Regions from separate parts of the Homo sapiens genome. Here region 2 is linked to region 1. Evidence: promoter capture Hi-C in 16 types of primary human blood cells and fetal thymus (Javierre and others, 2016). All regions are on one chromosome and are shown on one strand. Each heading gives the region's core, a stretch centred on a gene start or on the middle of the fragment in contact. The rest is flanking DNA. Distances are from core to core; before and after follow the strand shown.

Evidence for each region. Contacts are between HindIII fragments. The CHiCAGO score rates a contact against its expected background, and 5 or more counts as called.
Region 2: a fragment that was not itself captured here is called in contact with the fragment with the promoter of CYP19A1 in region 1 in 1 of 17 cell types (M1 macrophages); the score reaches 5.6 in M1 macrophages.

The regions. Positions count from the first base shown.
Region 1 is chr15:51,332,610-51,340,172 of GRCh38, forward strand. It overlaps CYP19A1 (cytochrome P450 family 19 subfamily A member 1), which reads right to left and starts at 5,987. Exons shown (of 10, transcript NM_000103.4): 1 at 5,886-5,987. RefSeq lists promoters at 5,912-6,489, 5,912-6,230, an enhancer at 6,151-6,230 and cis regulatory regions at 6,182-6,199, 6,264-6,293. The HindIII fragment of the contact is 2,086 bases long and covers 4,821-6,906 here.
Region 2 is chr15:51,368,594-51,376,156 of GRCh38, forward strand. All of the region lies in intron 1 of GLDN (gliomedin), which reads left to right. Among named protein-coding and RNA genes, the nearest start is that of GLDN, 31 kb to the left of the region's middle. The HindIII fragment of the contact is 7,832 bases long and covers 263-7,563 here.

The DNA of each region.
Region 1 (7,563 bases), core at 4,737-7,236:
CATCTATTGTTTGGTTAGATCTTAACACCCTTTTATCTGGTGGAAGATATGGGTGACAGGTCTTTTCCTTGCATATTCTCAACTATGTTTCCTTGACCCTGACAGAGGAGTGGGGTCTTGCTACAGGATTCTTGGTGTGCAGTGTTTTTCTCTCAGTAATCTTCACACGATTGGCCTCAATCATCCCTACTTCAGGTGTCATAGAAGAGAAAGTTGATGCCCCCATGATCCTTCTTCCCCTATAAGTCACTTGTACTTTCTTTCTGGAAGACTGTAAGATTTTCTTTTCATCCTTAGACTTCTGGAATTTCTCAACCTATGAATCATTTGTCTTGCCCATAACTTGCCAAAACCTTCCAATAGGCAGACTCAGGCCCTTTCTTAACTTGGGAAATTTACTTCCTATTAACTACTACTTTTCTTTCCTTCAGCTACTGAATTTGTCTGCAGATCTTGTCATTTGGTTCCAGAAAGTCTTTTTGTGCTCTACTGGAATGTTTATGTCCTAACGTTAATATTTTAAATGTATTACTGTTCCCTAGTGGCTTGGTTTCATGTGAGCCTCTTCTAAGAGCATTGCTGTGCCCCCTAAGTATAAGGGTAATGTTTTCTTTTGTCTGCTCTCTGGGCTCAGGGCCAGCAGCTGAGGTGCCTTCTCAGAAGGGACAAAAATGGTGGTTCTCAATCCCCTATCAAGTCACTGGCGGGGAGACTCTCATTTTCCTGTTTTCTCACATCTCCCAGGCTCAGGAGTAGAGATAGACTCAGCACACCTGTACAACTCCCTTACCTCATCCAGCCAGATCCATCTGCCAGGATACTCACTGATGCCCAGATACTGGTGCCCTCTTATGATTACAGAATCGGGGGTGGTTTGGAGACCATGTGTTTACTCATACAGCTTTAAGAAAGTAGCACATGTTTAGGGTCCACAGTTTGACCTAAAAAGTCACATTTTCTAGAACTCAGCACTTTCTTGTTTCATTTGGAAAGGTGGTTTTAAAGGCTGAAGTTGGCCCTGGTGGAGGTCAGAGATCATACGTGGTTTCCATAGTGACAGAAGCCAGTGCAAGTCTTGGCAATAAAAGGTAAGCTTCTCTTAGCCGGGGCCACTCCTCTGGTCCCTGGCTTGAGTCTCCAGGCTCAGCAGATGGGGTGTCATCTTCTCCAGGCTTAATATTGGCAGGAATCCCTTTTGGTCACTCCCAACCAGTCTCTCTGGAGAGGTGAGGCATATCTATTCTAGCTTGTTACTCTGCCTTTGCAACCCAGGAATGAAAGGTCTTAGGCTATCAGGCCCCAAATTCACTTTTTTTTTAGGACCTATATGCACCTATTCACTGCAGAGATGACAGTTCCCCTACATGGTTTTTAGGAAATCATGTTCTTACATCATTGATCTCTTAAAATCCTCCTTAATCTGCTAGACCAGGCTTGGCTTTCTTTCCTGACTAGCTTACACATTCTAGCATTCAGTGTCTGCTCCAGGTTTGTTTTTAAGCCTTGGAGCCAAGTGCCAGTCTGAGCTGTTTTCCACTCCATCACTTTGAATCATTTCCCTGCTCTATTGTTTCACTTCCTGTCCATCATTTTGAGCATTCCTCAGTGGCCCAAGATGGGGGCCAAAAATTTCCTACTTTTGATAAACAGGGCATGGGTGAACGTTGATGAGGTTTCAACAATGTGACCTTGGGCAGATCACTTAAACCTCCTGAGCCCTGACTTCCTCATCTGTGAAATGCTTATAAAACCTGCCCTGCCCCGTTCACAGGCTTATTATGGAACTCAAATGACATGAGAAAGCACTTTGAAAACTGAAGTGCTCTACACATGTAAGGCTTTGTTTTATCTTTCAAAAACAGTGGCTCGAGTTCCATAAGTGGAGCTTTGCAGTATTAACTTACTTCTGTGGATTTTGCAGTTTCAAATTCATGAGCCATTCTCATGATTGCACAGAATCCACTCTTAGAGCTTCCTTTACATTTTCATTGTTTCTGAAAACAATCACTTTTTCATTTATTGAAAGGCCATCACTCCAGGTGAAAAAGGAAAAGATTTCTTTCTACAGCCTGTCACGGTTACAATTTAAAGCCTACTAATGTTGGAATGGCAGATTCAGGTGGTTGATGTGGTAGATGTGGAGATGTGGGGACCTGAGGGTCCCCCTTCAAGAAAGGACTGACTGCCTGGCTGCAGAGATTAAGATTAAAGCATGCTTCAGCTGCAGAGAGCCACCTGGCCCCAGGTCATACCTTCCCAGGGCATCCCACATCTGTCCTGTGACTGAGTGAGGTAGGTAAAAGCCCAGTCACTCTGGCCTGACACAGGACACTCTGATGAGCAATACACAATCCAGAGCTTCCCAGTGGGTTGGCTGAGGCTTTGCAGGGTTGGACTGTGCTGGATTTCTCCCTCTGCCCAATCCTGCTTCTCCTTCTTTCCTTCATAGGTGCTGATCCCTAATAACCATTTTGTACTCCAAATTCCATCTCAGCACTTGTTTCCAGAGAATCTGATCTGTGACAATTGGGTACACTACACTAGAAAGGTGGAGTGGGGTGGGGTGGGAGGGCATGTTTGTTGCAAAGAAGGAGAGAAAACAATGGGAAGTGGGGATTTGAAATGGCATCACCTTCACAACCACAGACAGCTCCACGTCAAACAATGAGTGGGCAACTCAAAGGTCTAAGACACTGCTACTACGATAGGCGGAAATCTGTTGTTACCAGCCCGACTTGGACCAAAATCTCACAACGGAAGCAATATCATCTATTCTTATTCCCAACCCTAGAGATAAGCAGATTTGGTGCTCTTACCTGGAAGCACCAAAGGCTAACTTCCAAGAAAATGCTAACAACACACTGTGTTTTATACAAAAACCCCTACTAGTATCAAGATTGGCTAAATGATCTAAATTTAGTCACGGTTCTGTTTTTCAACTACCTTTTTACATACAGATGAAAGAGAAAGTTACATTTTCTAGAACTCAGCACTTCCTTATTTCCAGGTGGTTTTAAAGGCTGAAGTTGGCCCTGGTGGAGGTCAGAGATCATACATGGTTTCCATAGTGACAGAAGCCACTGCAAGTCTTGGCAGTAAAAGGTAATCTTTTAAAATGAAAATCTGTCATCCATCTACCGACTCCTCCCCATCCCACACACACGTAAAACTCCTCATTTGTTTCCCATTGCTTTTACAGTAAAGGCCTCAGCCCTACAAGGAAGGTCCCACCCACAGAGTCTGGTCCCTGCCTTGGTTACAGCCTCATTTCACTCCCTCCTCCTTGCTCCTGACGCTCCATGTGGCACCGCATTGGCTTCTTACGGTTCCTCAAATAAGCCATGCCATCTCCTGCCATAGGGCCTTGAACGTGTTGTTCCTCCTCTCTGCAATTCTCCTCACCCCTATCTTCGCCTAGTTTACAACTCAGCTTCAGGTGCCAACACAAGCATCCTTTTCTCAGGGAAGCCTTCCCTGAACCACACATCCAACTCTAGGACAGGCTCTTCAGTGATATGATCTCAAGGAACTGCATTCCTTTCTTCCAGAGCATTTGTCTCGTGGCCGCATTTAGAATTGCACCCTCATGTCTAATATTGTTTGGTAAATCTGTCTCCCCACTCCAGGCTTCAGGAATGATGCCTGGCTTTGCTCTCCATGCTATTCCTGGCTCCTGGCACAGTTCCTGGCAGATAGTAGGCACCCAATTACCATTTGCTGAGTAAATGAATACATGAAAGAATAAAAGAAAGAAAAAAGGGAGAATTGCTGACTTTGGTTGGATGGTGTGAAGTTTCTTGGGGTTTAACAGTAGGAATGGGGAGTTAAAACCATAAGAGGCTGAGTGGAAGATGCATGTGGTGACAACTTTTAGGGTGGCTCTCTCCCTAATCACCAGTGTGGTGGAAGGGTGGTGGGGCAGTAAAACCATCAAAAGTCACAGTGTAGCTGTCAATCTCATCACTGAAGACAAGAATACCCAAGTGCCAGGCCAGGAAAATTATTTACTTCACAATCAGGAAGAAATGCTGTGGAACTAAAGTTGGGGTATATTCTTGAATTTGATTTTATTCTCCAGAGCCCTAAAGTTAACCAGCTGGAATCATTTTTAAGGACCATTCTATTTAACTTTTGGAAATGAAGCATCTGCCTTTTAATGGAAAAACTACTTCTCATTGTAAAGATAGCACACAATGTTCTTGGCTGCTTTGGTCTCCAAAAAAAGGGAATTGAGATATCTCCCTGTGTCCGCATTATATCCTGAGCCTCCTGTGTCAACAAAACAGGCCAGATTGATAGCTTTTTTTTTTTTTTAATAATAAGTAAAAAGTAGCAGCCCATTCTGTGAAGTATCAGGCAGGGCAGGCTATGCAGGCATATCTGCCTCTCAAGAAATCTCAAGAGGCTTAGGGATTCACACTGAAAGGCTCCATATAACCAACCTCAAAGCCATGGTATTCAGACGAGAACCCAAGTTTATCGTGCATTCAAAAGTTCTGTTCCTCAAAAAGCATCTACAAAGTGTGATTAGCTAATGAATCCATTAATCAAATATTCCTACTTGGCACAAGTCCCTGCTGTGAGAGGACAGTTAAGATAGGTCCCTGCCTTAAGAATATTGTAACCCAACTGAAGAAATAGGATGTGGAAGAACTAAGATGTCGATTAACAGCACAAGGCACAGAAGAACTAAAGTGTCAACTAACAGCACAAGGCACACACAGTGTAAGTCTCAGCCAGTTCATATGGCCCATATCCAACAATACCAACCCGTGTTGAACATTTATTATACAAGTGCTTTACAAGTATTTTCTTATTAAAGCTTCACAACCCTATGAAATAGATACAATTACAGTCTCTTTAAAGAACTTGAGTAGCATATCTAAAGTCATGCAGTTAAAAAACAGTTTCAAGGTCAGGTCTGATTCCAAAGCCCAGGTGCATAACCACAGAGCCCCTGCAGCTTGTAGAGCTCACAGTGCTTGGGACTGGCCTAGGAAGTCAAGGCTAGATGAGGAAGGGTACTCGGAGTTAGGCCTTAAAGTGGGCAACACTGAAATAGGCCAGTGATGGAGATAGGTCACTGTGTGGCACTGCGGTGGAAAGAGGGTTGGAGAGAGAAGATAGAGGAGAAGAGGAAAGAGGGCAGAGCATGGCAGCTGCTTGGGCACAGCCACTTTAGGGTGAGAGATGAGTGAAGATGTCTACCTTGTAGGCCATATCAACATGTCCCCCTTCTTCTGTGAAAAATGCCATCATCCCACACAGGAAGAGTTGGAGAGGGATCTGACAGTGGAGTCTGGTAGGAAAGGAGTCTGGCTTTTCATTTGCGCTTCCTTCTGCCCCTCTTGCCCCAGAGCAATATCCCAGGCTTTCCACCAACCCAGCCCACGGGGTGGCCATGCTACAAGCCTTTTGAGTCCTGCATCCCAAGAGGGGCAGCTTCTTGGCCTGAAGTTGTCTAATAGAGCCTGCCTGGCTCCAAGCAGGCCTCATCTCTGCTCTGTCTACTGGATCTGGGCTCTGAACTGGGGTGGGAGGTGGGGAAATGGGGAGGCTGGTTCAGGCTACCACTTCCTCTCCTCACCATTGGATAGCCAGCCTTTCAAGGAAAGTAGGGGGCCAGTTCTGTGGCATAGAACAGTATAGTTCTTAGGCCCTCCTATTTCAGAAAAACACTCAAGCAGTGTTTTCCCTCTGCTCTCACACCACGACAACAGTCATCAACACAGAAGACTTCTGCGACCAAATGTAGGGGATTTTCCCCCACACACCAAGCAGCGGGCACCAGCTGGGTGTCCTCCAACTCAGTTCCAACACTATCTACCTGGAAAGAGTGTCTGATCCCACAGGTTGAGGGCTCAGTCAGATTAAGAGATACATACGCGACGTCTGGAAGATCCCGAGCACAGGACCTTCCGTCCTGATAGGATAAGTTCTTCTTCACCTTCCTGTTTGCCTCCACGTGTTCAGCCCTCCAGAAACTCCCTGAACCCTGTCCTTTGGGCCTTTTATGGAGATTTCATTTGTTGTCCATGACTGAAGCATGTGATTGAACAAAATGTGATTGGACAAAAAGGGTATGATCTAATCTCAGCAAGGTCTGTCTGTCCAGATTCTTCTTCCTCTCTTTGTGCAGCATTCCTTCCTCCAGGGTATGGGGCATGACCTCCTCTGGAATGAGGGTCTTATGACCCACAATCAGATTATAGAGTCCCGCCTTGGGTGGATGAAAGGAGGGCAAAGAAGGCCAGAGAAATATTCTGTTTCCTGAGGCCTAAAGCACCTCTACATTATAGCAAAAGACCTCAGCAAGTGTCATGGGAGTTATGGACAAGAACCATGGACAAAAATCTATATACATGTAATCATAAGATCACACCCCCCACCACACACCACATTGTTCTACATAGAAGTGCCTTCACTATACAGCTTTTCATTTATTCATTCGTTCATTCACTCATTTATTCAACGGGTAATAGTGAATTCCAAATCAGGAACTGTGCTATGTGTTGGGGGTGACATGGCCCCTAGCCTCAGGAGGCTTCTATTCCATGGTTAATGGTGGGTATTGCTGAGAGATGATCAGTCAACAGTAACTGCAATGAATGTTAGGATAAAGAGAAGCCCAGAAGGCTCCACGGTGTTCCAGCTGCTCACAGGGTAATCTGCCTGTCTTTTTTACTTCCGTATCTCCAATGCCCATTATCATACCAGGCACAGGAAGTGCTCAGTTAAGTGTTTACTGAATTAAATGAAGATCTGAATGATGCTGAGTGTCAACCCTCCCTCTCAGTGGCTCCTCCCCATTGGCCCTAAACCTGATACCTGGATGAAAAGAGATAAGGATACATGACAGTTCTTCAAGTAGGTCACAGAACGTTTGAGTTGGGAGGAAATGGACAAAGCTTTTTACATCACTGCCATCCCCTCCCAGTCATCATATCCCCACAGTGGGGGTACTTTATGAAACACTTGGACCTTCATGCTTTCCTAATTTCTTCTTATCCTGTATGCTCTTCTAAGAATACTGAAGTTGGTCAATGTTCCTATTAAAACTCAGGAATCTAAACTTTGACTCAGAATTTCTGATTGAGATGTCACTTCAGTTTCCTTGTGCATTCTCAGAGGCTCTACCCTGGCTCACCCTGGAGAGTAGGGGGCAAGAAGTCTGATACTACTCAGCTTTCTCTCCTGTGCCAAAAAATCCTACCTGCAAGAATTGGTATGTGTATTAGTCCATTCTTGCCTTGCTATAAAGAAAAGCCCGAGACTGGGTAACTTACAAGAAAAGAAGTTTAATTGGCTCATGGTTCCACAGGCTGAACAGGAAGCATGGCAGCACCTGCATCTGGGGAGGCCTCAGGGAGCTTTTACTCATGGAGGAAGGCAAAGCAGGAGCAGGAACATCTCACATGGTGGGAGCAGGAGGAAGAGGGGCCAGGAGAGATGCTACACACTTTTAAACAACCAGATCTCATGATAACTCACTATCATGAGAACAGCACTGAGGGGATGGTGCTAAACCATTCATGAAGGACCACTCCCATGATCCAGTCACCT
Region 2 (7,563 bases), core at 2,929-5,428, 34 kb after region 1:
AAATTAGGTCAAGTTAGGATTTTAAGAGTTTATTGTGCATACAAAGAAATGTTCATGAACTAAGAGACCTCAAACTGGAAAGTGGCAGAAAGTCTCAAATTTACAGCAGTTACAGCTCAGTTTCAAGAGCATAAAGGAGGAAGCGTTTTGGCCTGTTTCAGGATTGGATGTCATATATTCTTTCTTAAGGCATATGACTATGTAAGCTGATTTGCCTATATCCGTTGGTTTAATTTCATTGAATCATGCTGATAAGATGAAAAGCTTACTGAGTGTTCTGTTTATGTTGAAGGTTTATGTTTTGGGGGGCAGGGAATCAGTAAGAGCTAAGTTTTGGTTATGTGGCTATGAGTAATTGGCCTTGGGTACTAAACTGTGGCCTCCAGTTTTATTTATTTACATTTAACAAAGGCAAGACCCACATTCCCGTTGGTGTTTGCAGAGTGCCCTCACCAAGTCTTGGCCCCTGTGTGAATTCCTGCCTTTCCCAGAAATGAGTCCAGGGTGTCTGACCTCAGCTTCAGATCCCATGAAGGATTCTTCTAACATCTGCGATCTAACCCTCCAGTGACAAGCAGGTGGACCACCACATTCATAGCCCCATCTCCCCAGTCCAAGCAATCTCAGCCAATGGTAAGGTGAATTATCATCTCCTGGAGCTTTTTCTAACAGGATCATTTGCATGCATATAATAACAGCAGTTTGCATAATTAAGGAGAGTCATACAAAGTATTCAGTTTTCTAAGAGATATGGAATTTAAGTTACAAAATAGATCAGACCTGGAAGATGACTTAGCATTTAAACAGTGTTCCAGCCAGCAAACTGTAACCTGTGCTTGGAGAACTTCAGAGAAACCATGACAGGCCTCATTGTTTTAGTAACACACAAACCAGAGTAGCTGATGATAATGAGCAGGTTTGCTCTCTTACTTTTGTGTGAATTCATTCTGAGAGTAAAAGGTGAGAGAAAGGGAGTTCAAGAGAGCAGCCAGCCAAACACTGTGAGGTTTCGAGTTCCAATGAGCAGTAGCAGCTTACCACATTTAGCTCTATTCATTCTGATGAGAAAGACATGCTTTTGATTTAAGCCTTTTACCTACACACAGAAATTGGCACATTTTAAATTACACATCTATTAGTAAAAATTTAATATCCTGTTTATATGAAAAGTACACTAAAGCAAAAATCTGTGTTTCAAGTTGAATTCAGACAATTCCTTTTGCAAAGCCTGAGCAGTACAAAAAAGTAGCAGTAGCTCACGTCTATAATCCCAGCATTTTGGGAGGCCGACACAGGAGGATTACTTGAACCAAGGAGTTCAAGACCAGCCTAGATAACATAGAAAGATTCTATCACTACAAAAAGTAAATAAATTAGCCGGGCATGGTGCCGCATGTCTGTAGTCCCAGCTACTTGGGAGGCTGAGGCAGGAGGATCTCCTGAGCCTGGGAGGTTAAAGCTGTAGTGAGCCATGTTCATGTCACTGCACTCCAGCCTCAGTGACAGAGCAAGCCACTGTCTCCAAAAAAGAATAAAAAAGAAAGTAGATGAAGGGGAAATAGTCTCAGCTCTGGAAGCAAGCTAGGTGAGCCTAAACCAGCTACTCCCTGCCTTCTTTGGGCATCAGCTTTCTCATCCCTCCTCCCCACATCCTCTGAGTGTTTCTCACCACCTCTTACCCAGCATCCTCTGATGGGATCAGAGTCTGAAAATCATCTGTCATGTCCAACCCTCTCATTTTACAGACAAATAACTAAGGTCAACCCCACCTGTTTACCCAGGGCAGCTCCATTTTTATTTGCTTTATATTTTGGGATTTGGTGCTTATATAAGGAAAATAAAAGTCTTATGGCTAATGAACAATTTGAAAATCACTGGACTTTACAAGAGTTCTAGTTCATTCTGTTCATTTGCCTAGAAACAACAGAGATCTGTCCAAGTAATTTCAAGTGATGGGGGTAATCGTGAGAACATGATGTTTGGGTTCACACAACACTAACATGCTTTCCATTCTCTCTGGATTACTAAAAACACAGAAAAGTAAAAAAAAAAAAATCACTTATTATTCCAACATACCTTTACAACCATCTCAATTAAAAAGTGAGAAAAAAAAATCTGCCAGGTACAGTGGCTCACGCCTGTAATCCCAGCACTTTGGGAGGCTGAGGTGGGCAGATCACCTGAGGTCAGGAGTTCCAGACCAGCCTGGCCAACATGGTGAAATCTCATCTCTACTAAAAATACAAAAATTAGCTGGGTGTGGTGGTGTGCACCTATAGTCCTAGCTACTTGGAAGGCTGAGGCAGGAGAATTGCTTGAATCTGCCTCAAGCCGGAGGTTGCAGTAAATCAAGTTGGTGCCACTGCATTCCAGCATGGGCAACAGAGTGAGACTCCATCTCAAAAAATAAAAAATTAAAAAAAAAAACCTATCCCCTTCTTATTCCCTAGTCTCAGTCTCTAGGGGGAAGAATATCAGTTGTTTGGTTTCATGAACCTCCCAGCTTTTTTGTGTACTTATACAAAAACATCTAGGGATTATTTATCAACCAAAAAGTTGTGTTGCATTATGTGGCTTGGGCTGCATTTTGCTTTCGTCACTTAACACCATGCCAAGGCTGTCTTTCCAATAGTACATATAGATCTATGTCATCCTTTAAAATTTGTTCAACAAGACCCTTATTGACAAACCTTTGCATGTTCTGCCACACAGTGTTGCATTGAGCATTTTTGTCCAGATATCCTTGTATACTCTTCCAAGTGGGATTCCTAATTTGTAGCATTTTCTTTTTAACAGATACTGCCAAGTTATGTCCCATCTCTGTTTAGTTTGAATTAAAACAAGCTCAAGCCATCTGATGCCAGGTCAGCAAGAAGTCTGTTCTTTTTCTCCTGGGGCCTCTTCCTTGGCCAAGATCCCCAAGAGTTCTGCTAATCCAATGAGAATAGTTCCCTTTTCAGAGAAAAAAACTGGAAAAGCTGGTCAGGCTGCCAGTAGGGCCCATTTGGGCTATCTTTTCCCCTAACGCTATTGTATTAGTCCACTTTCTGTTTATTATAACAGAATACCTGAAACTGGATAATTTATAAGAAAAGAATTTTTTTTTCAAGATGGAGTCTCACTCTGTCACCCAGGCTGGAGTGCAGTGGCTCGATCTCAGCTCACTGCAACCTCTGCCTCATGGGTTCAAGCGAGTCTCCTGCCTCAGCCTCCCAAGTAGCTGGGATTACAGAAGCATGGCACAATACCCAGCTAATTTTTTTCTATTTTTAGTAGAGACAAGGTTTCCCCATATTGGCCAGGCTGGTCTTGAACTCCTGACCTCAGGTGATCCACCCACCCTGGCCTCCCAAAGTGTTGGGACTATAGGCATGAGCCGCCGCGCCTGGCCAGGAATTTATCTTTTACAGTGATAGAGACTGAGAAGTCTAGGGTTGATGGGCTGCATCTCGTGACAGCCTTCTTGTTGGTGAGGATTCTCTGAAGAGTCCCAAGTGAGACAGAGCATCACATAGCAAGGGATTGAAGTGTGCTCACTCAGGACTCTCTTCCTCTTCACATGAAGCCACCAGTTCCACTACCATGATAACCCATTAATCCATGAATGGATTAATCCATTCTTGAGGGCAGAGCCCTCATGATCCAATAACCTCTTAAAAGGCCCCCTTTCTCAATACTGCCACATTCAGGATCAAGTTTCAACATGAGTTTTGGAAGGGACACTCAAACCATAGCAGCTACCAAACGTTCAATGCTGAAAACAAGTCGCCATGCAATGTAATATGTCCCTGTCCGTTGCTGCATTGATCTTCCCACCTGGGAGATGAACCTGATGGGCCCCATTGTTTCTTCTGGGAGATAATTCTCACTCCTCAGTGATGCTTACAGCCAACAGGGCATTCATCCTGAGCTCTCGGGGCTACTGCTTATTATTTTGCACTCAGGTTGACAGCCCATCGTTCCCACTAAGTCTGTCCTCCATGCTAGCGTGGCTGGGTTGGACTTTTTCCTGTGCTTCACCCACCCTCTCCCCAGCACCACCAGATTCTCATATCATGAACTGATTAGCAATTTATTGTCATCTTCTCTCAGAGAAACTCTTCCTTAGAGACGGTTGATGTGCTTTCCCACTTGAACCACTTCTCAGCAGAGAAGTTCCAGGCCTGGGACCGGGCACTATTCTAGACACAGGGTACCTTAGTCTCTTTTGTGCTGCTATAATGGAAAACCACAGATAGGGTAATTTATAATGAGCAGAAATTTATTTCTCATAATTCTGGAGGCTGGGAAGTCCAAGATTGAGGTACCAGAATCTAGTGAGGGCCTTCTTCCTGCATCATTCCACAGCAGAAGACAAAAGGGCAAGAGAGTGAACTCAAGCCCCCTTATAATCAGCATTAATTCATTCATGAGGGTGGAGTTCTGCAGACCTAAATGTCCTCCTTTAGGCCCCACCTCCCAACACTGTTATGTTGGGGATTATGTTTCCAACACATGCATTTGGGAGGACATATTCAAATCATAGTACAGGAGATGCAGACAAAACAAAGAAGTTTTTCTGCTCTCAAAATGCTTCCTTTCTCTGGGGAGCAGGAGTAGGTAATAAATATGTAAGCAAGATAATACAGTCATTCCTCAGTATCTGTGGGGGATTGGGTCCAGGACACCTGTGAATACCAAAATCCGCACACACTCAAGTTCCTGACGCTGGTCTTGTGGAACCCAAGTATATGAAAAGTCAGCCACCCATTTCTGAGAGTTTCGCATCCCTCAAATACTGTATTTTCAATCCATGTTTGGTTGCGGATGCAGAACCTGTGTATATGGATAACTGACTATATTTACTGATAAAAGTTCGTGTACAAGTGGACCCACACAGTGCAAACCTGTATCATTCAAGGTCAACTGTACTGAATAATGATAAGTGCTACAAAGACAAAAGGCCAGATGAGGTGATGGGGAGTGGCTGTCTGGGCTCCCTTCAGTTGAGAGACAGGAAAGCCTGACTTGAGGCATCAGTGAAGCTCACCATGTAAAGATGTGTGGCACAGCACGCTAGGCAAGGCCAAGACCAGCGACGAGGCCAGTGCGACTGGAGCAGAGTGACAGTGATGGGCAGGGAGGGGGAGAGCACTGGGAGATGCCCTACAAGGTGCGGGGGCAGGGCCACAACATGGATGGGTCATGCCTAGTACCCCCAGGACAATGACCTCTAAGGACTCTTCCAGCTTCAACCTTCTCAAGACCTCCCTCAAGACTTAAGAGGCCCTTAATGCAAAATATGACTCCTTAATTTGACCATCTAGATTTTGTGACTTTCAATTGGGAGTTTTCTTATTTTGATTCCAATTTTTAATCATTATGACCAGAAAAAAGTTTCTAACTTTATGGCCACACCTTTTCATATCATATATTTCATCTCAATACAATCTTATATACACAGCCCAATTTCGTTAAAAGACTATTCTTGAGTAAAGATTAACATAATTTACTGGTAAATATCTCAATTGACATTTAGCATACAAATGAAATCAAAAGGTCAGGAAATGAAAACTGCTTCATAGTTTTTACAGAAGCTGCACCTGCCCCAGATCAGTGATTAGTACCAAACAGAAAGGCTAATTTTCCCTATTGTTGCTTCTGTTGTTTCCAACCACCCCTTCTGCTGTGATCCCCCAGGCAACAAATGAAGCCATTGTGAAGTCTTTTCTGGTCCTCTCAATGGGCAATTACACATTTTTTAAGACAATAAATTTTGTTCCTAGTGCAGCTGATTACATTCATTTATGAAAATGACTAAAGGCAGTGAATCAATTTTTTTTCTGTCTGGTGATGTTAAGATAATCACCAGAGCCATAATAGAAAGTAGAGTGGACCTGGAATCAGGAAACCTGGAGTTCAGTCCCATTTCTTCTACCAGCAAGCTGTGTGATTTTGAGTAAATGATGGCATCTCTCTAAGCCTCTATTTTCTTATCTGAATTAAATGGATAAGTGTACTCCAACTCAGAGAGCTATTGGGGGTGAGGGGACATCCAGAAGTCTTCCAAGGCATTGGTAAACTTCCATTTCATTTCATATATATGTGTTTGTCATATTATTCATCGTTAAATTATCTGTACACATTTCTTTTCTTTCTTTTCCTTTTTTTTTTTTTTTTTTTGAGACAGGGTGTTGCTCTGTCACCCAGGCTGGAGTGCAGTGGTGGGATCACTGTTCACTGCAGCCTCAGCCTCCAGGGTTCAAACAATCCTCCCACCTCAGCCTCCTAAGTAGCTGGGATTATATATGCATGCCACTATATCCAGCTAATTTTTAATTTTTTCATGGAGAAAGGGTCTTACTATGTTACCCAGGCTGGTTGGGCTGAAATCAATCTTCCCACCTTGGCCTACCAAAGCACTGGGATTACAGACATGATCCACCACACCAGGCCCACATTTTCTACATGTGTGATATGTATGAATATTTCACAATAAGTTTCTAAAGCAGGCAATAAATAGCTGTTGACATACTTGACAAAAAGTAAATACAATATAAGTTTTCCTCTGGATCTCCTAACAGAATAAATCTAGATACAATACAAAAATTATTTTCCCCTCACATCAAAACATGGCATTTTGAAAAATAGTTTAATGGAAAGAGTAATCAGTGAAATTTTTGAAAAAGACAATGATTGTATCATGTTTAGTACAGCTCCCTTCCACCCTGGCCCTCCATTTTCCCCTCACTTGAGGTTTTCTAAATCTACACAAATATTCTGGAAAGATAAAGAGATTATCTTAAAAGCAGCAAGAGACAAACACATAGAAGCATTTCTGTGTGCAGCACTGTTTTACATGAACAAAAGTATGTTATATGTGCTGCTCTATATTTGCATTTTTTCATTTATCTTAGAGATCTTTCAGTAGCAGCCTATGAATTTAGCACAGTCAGATTTGTTTTTTCTGAAGCTCGCTGGAGCAGTGTGGAGAATGGGAAGGGGTATACGGTGGGTGTGAGGCAGCCAGATGTTTTCCTTATTCCCATTGGTTTTGAAAACGTCAGGCTAATGCCATGCTGCAGTGACCACCTGCCACAGGTGGTCATCCAGTGGGGAGTGTCCACATGGCATGAGAATCACTGCCACCCAGGGGCAGTTTCCACGTGCCAGGGACTGAGCAGGTGCATTCCTCAAGGCCAGGTGCTTATATTATTCAGAGGAGGAGATCAGAGTTCCAAGAGGTTAAGTACTTCATCTGTGTTCACCCAGTTAATAGGTGCTTCCTCCCAACCACTAGGCTCACCACCCCTTTTATTCAGGCCCAAAAATTGAGCCCTTCAGATGCTGTGGGGGCTGGCTCATTATGGTGGTGAAAGTTGGATTTGGCAATTCCCTCGTCATCCTCTGTCAGAATTCCATAGAAATTCAAGGAAATTCTCTTGATGATGTTGATAGATAAGCTGCTGATAGCGAATATTCTTAGATCTTTTAAGGGTTTCTTTCAAGTGTTATGTTAACTACAGTCATATGTCATGTAACCACATGGATACATTCTAAGAAATACGTCATTAGGCAATTTTG